Regions from separate parts of the Homo sapiens genome. Here region 2 is linked to region 1. Evidence: promoter capture Hi-C in human tissues and cell types (Jung and others, 2019). All regions are on one chromosome and are shown on one strand. Each heading gives the region's core, a stretch centred on a gene start or on the middle of the fragment in contact. The rest is flanking DNA. Distances are from core to core; before and after follow the strand shown.

The links. The method cuts DNA at HindIII sites, captures the fragments that hold promoters and counts their contacts. A contact is called where the count stands out against the background at its distance.
Region 2: a contact is called between a fragment that was not itself captured here and the fragment with the promoter of PSTPIP2 in region 1, in 1 of the 25 tissues and cell types used here (heart left ventricle).

The regions. Positions count from the first base shown.
Region 1 is chr18:46,070,102-46,073,838 of GRCh38, forward strand. It overlaps PSTPIP2 (proline-serine-threonine phosphatase interacting protein 2), which reads right to left and starts at 2,159. Exons shown (of 15, transcript NM_024430.4): 1 at 2,055-2,159. The coding sequence starts at 2,087. RefSeq lists enhancers at 645-744, 785-844, 2,064-2,565 and silencers at 1,695-2,074, 2,115-2,164, 2,295-2,454. The HindIII fragment of the contact is 22,245 bases long and covers 1-3,737 here.
Region 2 is chr18:46,687,624-46,691,360 of GRCh38, forward strand. ST8SIA5 (ST8 alpha-N-acetyl-neuraminide alpha-2,8-sialyltransferase 5) reads right to left here. Exons shown (of 7, transcript NM_013305.6): 4 at 1,152-1,296. Among named protein-coding and RNA genes, the nearest start is that of LOXHD1, 32 kb to the left of the region's middle. The HindIII fragment of the contact is 3,606 bases long and covers 211-3,737 here.

The DNA of each region.
Region 1 (3,737 bases), core at 909-3,408:
GCCCAGGGTCACCTAGCTAGTAAGGGGCAGAACTGGATTCAAGCCCGGGCAGCCCACCTCAGAGGCTTCATGCTGTTCGGTAAGCTCTCAAAACTGGACATCTTCCCAAGGGGCGGGGCCATCTCCACCAGCCCCTCAAACCCTGCATGTCACCCACCAGACATTAGAGAGTACTCACTGACATGTTTGTACTGGCTGTGAAGATATTAAAATACTGCAAACTCTGTGGCCTGGAACCCTGTCTTCACCCTGTCACCCTCTCCGCTAAGACCTCCCCGTATCCAGCATCCCTGGCATGGGGCTGAGGGGTGGAGGCTGGTGGGGAGGGGCTTAGCGCCCGCCTGGCCTTAGCCTTGCCAGTGCTAAAACTGTGGCTAAATACTGAGGATTGTGTTGTTTGGTTGGGTTTGTTTGTTTGTTCGTTTTTGAGACAAACACAAATCACTCTGTCGTCCAGGCTGGAGTGCAGTGATGTGATCATAGCTCACTGCAACCTCAAACTCCTGGCCTCAAGCAATCCTCTTGCCTCAGCCTCCCAAGTAACTATATCTACAGGCATGCACCACCATGCCCAGCTAATTTTTAAGATTTTTTTGTAGAGACAGACAGAGTCTCACTATGTTGCCCAGGGTGGTCTCGAACTCCTGGCCTCAAGCAATCCTCCTACCTCGGCCTCCCAACGTGCTGGGATCACAGGCATGAGCCACTGTGCCTGAACTAAATACTGTTAGTATCACGTCTGCCTCCTTCTCCTTATGTCTCCACGAACCAGTTCCTCTGCTGACTTCCTTATTTCTGGGGCCCACATCTCATTCTCCAGTTTGTATTATACAGAGCCTTTTTCCCACAGTGCCTGCCATGGGATCCCCCAGTCCTCCATTCTACCTGAAAAACTCGCAAGCCTCCCGTGAGAGCCATCTGTGGTGCCCTTGGTTCCTCTGTGAGGCTGCCACCACCCTGCACCCTAGGGTGAGTAGTGCCCCAGAAGGACCTCACAAACTCCAGTGAAGGGACTCACAGGCACAGTCTCAACTGTGTCCCTGAGGTCCCCAGCCAGGTTTCTCTACCCTGCAGCCCACGTGGGGTAGAGGGACCATCTAGGCAGCTGTGAAGCTACCTGGGTGGGTGGTGGGGGGAGGCAAGCAGGAGCCCCAGTAAGGAGTCAGGGCCCCTTGGCAGCTGCGGTCAACTTTGAGGTTTGCAGCCTCCTGCTCCTGTCTTAAAGGGATGAGGACAGCTCCTCTGAATGAGGGGGCATGGACCTTGAGGGGCACCTGGGGAGTGAGAGGACAGAGGGAAGAGGACTAGACAGAGGAGGGGGACAGGCAGACCTGCTCCCTCCAGGCTGGGCTGGCCCTACCGGGCTGGGTGGGGTACCCCCTCCAGCTTATAGGGTCTCCCACACCATCAGCCCCGCTATGGGGCCTGGACGGAAGGGCTGGGGCAATGGCCTGGGGAGGGGGCTCGGGAAACAAGGCTGTAGAACAGGGAAAGCTCCAGCAAAGGGAAGCCCTCTATGCTGTACGTTTCCTGGAAAGGACGATCCCGGGGGGCAGCTGCTGCTGTCAACCCGGTAAAGCTCACAAGCCCCCACACCAGATCCCCCCAGATCCTCTCACGGCTCAGCTCCAGGGACCGGCAGAGACTCTCCCCGGACGGGTCTCGCCTCCCTAAGGGTCTCTGCTTCGCCTGTGAGAGGAGGGGTTGATGTCCTGACTCTAAGGTGTCTCGGCTCTCTGCGTCCTCAGGAGCACGCGCTGCTGGGGGCGCGGGCGGCAGAGGGTGGGCCCTGGAGTCCGAGCCCCCGGGACTCGCGGGCACGCGGTGGGTAGCGGGGGACAGAGAGGGAACAGCAGCCCGGCGTCCGCTCCAAGTCTGCCCCTCGAGCAGTGGGGCTGGGGCCCCGATCCCTTCACGCGCGAGCTCCGCCAAGCCCCCGGGCGCGCGGTCACCGAGTGGCGCCGGAGCTGGGGAGCCCCCCACGCCCGCCGCGTTGGCCTCCCGCCCGGGCCGGGTCCTGAGCCCCGCGATCCGCTGTCGGCCCCACGACTTACCCAAAAGTTTCCCTTGAACAGTGAGCGCGTCATCGCAGCGCGAGTGGGGGCGCGGAGGAGAGCCGGGCCGCAGGTAGCACAGAGCGGGGAGGCCTGACTGCCACTGCCCGCGGCTCCGCAGACTCAACTTCTGCGTTCCACACTCGCGCAGGGAAGCCGCCCCCGGGTCCTAAACCACTCCCGATTGCGACGGCCGCCGTCGGCGCTCTGCGCTCCCTGCGCGAGACCTGGGCGGGACCCTCGGCGCTCACCCGGCCAGGGGCTGCAGCCCGCACCCGGACCCAGGCCCATTTAAAGCCCCACAGCGTCGGGCCACGATCAATATATCAGCCCGAAGCTAGCTGCCTCCTTCTGGAAGTCTTTGGGTATTGGAAATAACTGGTCCTGGCTTGGGTTCCTGCCCACAAGGCCCCCTGGACAGCACGAAATCCAGGCTCTGCGGGGTGATAGACGGGATCTGATCAGATGGTCGCGAGGACCCGGTTTAAGCTACAGAAGGCCTGGGGCCGACAACTCCCGCAGACGCCTTGGCTTCACGGCGGGCCCCACCGGCACCTGCTGCAGATCAGGCCCTGGGGGACGGTTCATTTTTTATTTTACTTTTTGTTGTTGCAGGTGTTTTTAATGAATGGGGTCACGTTTTAGTCTAAAATGTCATGGAGAGGTCATCTCTGCTGTTTCCCCTTGACTCTAGTCACTTGGTGGTGTCCTAACAGGGCTTCCAGGAGCTCAGCCGCTCTCTGACTCCCTTTCCATTCTCAAAAGGCAAGACCCTTCCCTGCCCATTCCACCCCAGCAAGAGGGGCCCAAGATTCCTTCTTCTCCCTCCACTCTTCCACCCTCACAAATAAAACCCCAGGGCAGGTCAGACCCCTCTCTGCATTGTAGTAGATTGGTACAAAAGTAATTGCGGTTTTTGCCATGACTTTTAATAGTAATGCAGGGCTTATGACAAAGTACTGCCTGGTGCGACAGGCCCGAAGCCCAACCTGAGGCCCAGAGGGGTTGAATGGCTTGCCCAAGATCACAGTTTATTTAAGGGATGAAGAGCTCAAGGTTAGAGCTCTGCCCTTCTAAATAGATGCAAAGACAGACATCCTTCCTGGGGCAGATCCATCCTGGGCAGAGGAATAGGTGCTCAAAGTGGGGAGGATAAAGGTCAAGGTTGCCAAGACTGGCACCAGCCCAGCCTGGAGAAGCAAGCACTCACCCCTGGAGCAGGTTCTAGCTACACCCAGACACAGTGAAAGGGCAATTGCTAGAATTATGTGAAGCACCTGGAACAAGTTCTGCTCCATAAAACTGCAGCCAGCCCCACTCAGATGAACTCCCACCAATAAAGTCATCCACAACTGCAAAGATGGAGAGGTGGCCTCCAGCCACCAAGCATCTCCAAGGGATGCATCCATTTACGTACTTGCTCATATCCTTTGAAAGCAGTGAGATTAGAAGGAAGGCAGAGAAGCCTGGCAGAACCATCAAGGGGCAGCAGAGGACGTGGTAGGCACTAGGAAGCTAGGCTTAACTGCAGGGGGTAAGAAATGGCACAAACTGGGGACATAGAAGCGGGAGAGCTGAAGACACCACTAAGGTTTTTCCTGGAAGTTTTAAATATTCTGGAAAAATAGTTTAGATACAATTCTAATTGTCACATTTTAATTTTTAATACATGTATAATTTTAA
Region 2 (3,737 bases), core at 764-3,263, 620 kb after region 1:
CATTTGACGCCGCTCACCTGCAGCTCCTCCCCCACATCCCCAGAATGCATGAGTCTTACCTATACACTTTGGTACCAGTCACAGAATGCAGGGAACTCTGGGCTTTGTTTCGCACTCAGCCAAGAAGCAAGGCAGCCAAGGCCTTCAGATTTCTTCCAAAAAGACCTCTACATGCCCCCACTCAGAATTTCTATAAACTACATTCACTGAATGCTGTCCTGGGCCCAGAGCTCTCCTGAATGTGGTTATGAACACACCCATGCAACCTTCCTCCTCTTCAGAGTCCATACGCCACCACACCTGGGTAATTGCCAGAACTGGCTGAAAGCGCAGGTTCCAGCGCCCCTTCTCTGAGAGTAGTGCGGTGAGTCTGCACCAACCGTCAGCCCAGGTGATTGCAGGTGCTCAGCATCAGTGATCTGAACAGTTCACGTCTGCAGCTCACTCACTGCGGTCCTCAATGGCCAAGGTCAGTGATCTGAACCATTCAGGTCTGCGGCTCATTCATTTTGTGGTCCTCCATGACCAGGGAGCCACCGTGCCAGCCCTGCACAGCCTACCTCCAGAATTCTTTTATGTGAAAGGAAAAAAATAAATATCTATCTTGATTAAGACTCTGATATTTTAGAAGTTCTGTTATAATCAGCCAAATCTATTCATAGTCCAAGCCCCAGTGTTACAAATAAGGAGATTGAGGCTTTGAAAGACAAAATATCTGCCCACGGTCATCAAGTGAGCTGAATCTTTCAGAGTCTAGATCTGCACTGGGTTGTTCTTTCTTGTGCTCACAACTTCTGCATGTGCGTTTGCTCTTGTGCCTACCTCAGGAGGGGGACGAATGTGTTGTCATTCTCTCCCTATCTGCAGGATATCCTCTGCAAGCAATGCAATACCCAGAATTTTCTAGTCACTTTCTCGCCAAAAGTCACTCAAATCATAGACAGTTGGCAGTCATGGTTCTCAGACAGAACCCCCAAAGAAATCCAGAGGGTGGGCTTCTGCACCTCAGACAACTGGTCAACCAGGACCAAGACAACTGAGTCCAGAGGACCGTGAGTGAGTCAGGCAAAACCCCAGGGACATTGCCACGGAGGGCTACTGCTGGATTGGCTCCCTCGCCCCACCCAGACCGCCCCCGCCCAAAGCAGCACCTTGGGAAACATGCGGAAGATCTCCTGGTTGATGTGGTAGATGCCACTGGTGTCCACCTCATACTTGAGCTTTGTCCCCAGGGGAGTGTTCTTCTGGGTGGTGAAGAGAAAGGCAGGGGCGTTGCAGCACCTGGACAGAGTAGACCTGCCAGGCAGGGAGACAGGCAGGAAAGACGTGATGCAGGAAAGATGTGATGGAGGGCAGAGCACAACCTCACGGAGAACAGAGGGGTGGAGCCGAGGCCTCTCCTGCTCACCTATCCCACGCTTGCCCCCACCCTGCATGGAGCCGAGGCCTCTCCTGCCCACCCATCCCACACACATCCCCACCCTGCATGGAGCCGAGGCCTCTCCTGCCCACTCATTCCCAGGCTTGCCCCCAACCTACACCTCTGCTCATGCAGTCCCCTCCCTTTTCAACGCCTCTCCCAAGGCCCCTGCCTTCTGCCACTCATTCAGGGCCCAGGCCAGGCTTCTTTCCATGAAGCCCCACCCAGCTGCCCCTGTCTGCACTGTATGGAACTCCTCGACGGAGCCTGAGTCCTGGCCACTAATAGAGGGTAAGGAGGAGCTTTCCAAAGAGCTCCCAGCCAGGCCTGGCATGGAAACTTGGGCTGCCGTCCTGGTGTCAAGAGGCCTGGATTCTTGCTTCTGCTCTGCCCCGACCAGTTGTGAGGCTACTGGAAGGTCTCTCTCTTTCTCTCTGGGCCCTAGTTTCCTCATACAGGCTTGGCTCTTCTACCTCTAATCCTCTGTAATTTGTGATTCCAGCTTGCAAAAGCCAGGAATGTTTTATGATTTTTTTTTTTTTTTTTTTGAGACAGGGTCTCACTCTGTCACCCAGGTTGGAGTTCAATGGTGCGATCTCGGCTCACTGCAATCTTCGCCTCCTGGGTTCAAGTGATTCTTCTGCCACAGCCTCCCAAGTAGCTGGGATTACAGGCAAGCACCACCATGCCTGGCTAATTTTTTTTTTTTTTTTTTTTAGTAGAGTCAAGGTTTCTCCATGTTGGCCAGGCTGGTCTCGAACTCCTAACCTCAGGTGATCCACCTGCTTCAGCCTCTCAGACTCCCAAAGTGCTGGGATTACAGGTGTGAGTCACCATGCCTGGCCTATAATGTTTTTTTTTTTAATTTCATCTCTTGCAGGTACTTCACTGGGAAGCCTAGCTGGCTCCCAGTCACAGAGAGCAGAATTTCCTGTGGAGAGCTGGGTTTCAGAATGTAACAGAAGCTTCCCAGAGAGGAGACCAGAGGCCTGGCAAGGCAGGGCCATGGATTGGCATTACAAACTGGCATCTGGGCCTTTTAGCTTTGCTAGTTCAGAAGCTCAGTCTTGTCAGCCCACTGGAGATCACTCCTATTGAGGGATACTGACTCACACTAACCAAGCTCATAAGTGACTGATATACAAACCAGAATGTCAGTGTGCCTATTTGTAGGCAGCAGGGTGGGAGAAGGCCTGTTACAGGATTCATTTCCTGTAATTCGAAAGCTCATGCCTGCCTTCTAGCACCCACCTGACACTCCCTCATGGCACCAGGTTCCTGCCAGCCTGAATGAAGCATCTCATCATTGTTCCATGAGCTTGAAATGAGAGCAAAGGGAGGCAATGACCAGCCTGGAAGGTTTTCTCACTTAGAGCATGGCAAGGCCTGATGTCACTGCCTTTTCTCACACCTGAAACTGCTCCACACCCCTCATGCCCAGAGCTCCACCCCTGCACTGTGCTGTCTTGTCCCTGCCAAAGGCTCCCACACTCATCCCTGTTTTTCTCTTGCCACATCATTTCCCTATTGCTTCATGTTTCCTGAGATATGTGAGTCCTGCTGCTGAGACTTTTTTTTTTTTTTTTTTGAGATGGAGTCTCGCTCTGTCGCCCAGGCTGGAGTGCATTGGCATGATCTCCACTCACTGCAACCTCCACCTCCCGGGTTCAAGCAATTCTCCTGCCTCAGCCTCCCAAGTAGCTAGGATTACAGGTGTGCACCACCACACCTGGCTAATTTCTTTGCATTTTTAGTAGAGACAGGGTTTCACCATGTTGGCCAGGCTGATCTTGAACTCCTGACCTCAGGTGATTCACCCGCCTTGGCCTCCCAAAGTGCTGGGATTATAGACGTGAGCCACCATGCCTGGTCCACTGCTGAGACTTCTATTCTGCCCTAAGTCTGGACAACAGGCTTTTGCCTCTCACTGACCTGGTCCAGGCTGAGTGTTTTATCAGCCATACTCTCAGTGTGTCAGGTCTCACTCGCCCCCAGGGGCACCTCTGTGCAGTGTGCACAGTAACATTTCTAAGGGGCCAATTGGCAGCACAGATTATGGTTCTATTCTCTACTCTCCCAGCACTTTGCTCAAGCTCATGTTCTGTTTCTTATGATAGGTGAGTCTCTGCAAACTACTGTCAGGCCTTTGCTTGGTTTCTGTAGTCTCCCAGAGGCCTCTGGCACCTGATCTTCAAGTGTTATCACTTTAAACATTCGCATTTCTAAAAATGTGCCTCTTAAAACTACTACTCTACCTCTAGACTTGGTCTGGAGCTGCAGCAAATTGGAACAAATGATTTATAAAGAAAAAGCTTAG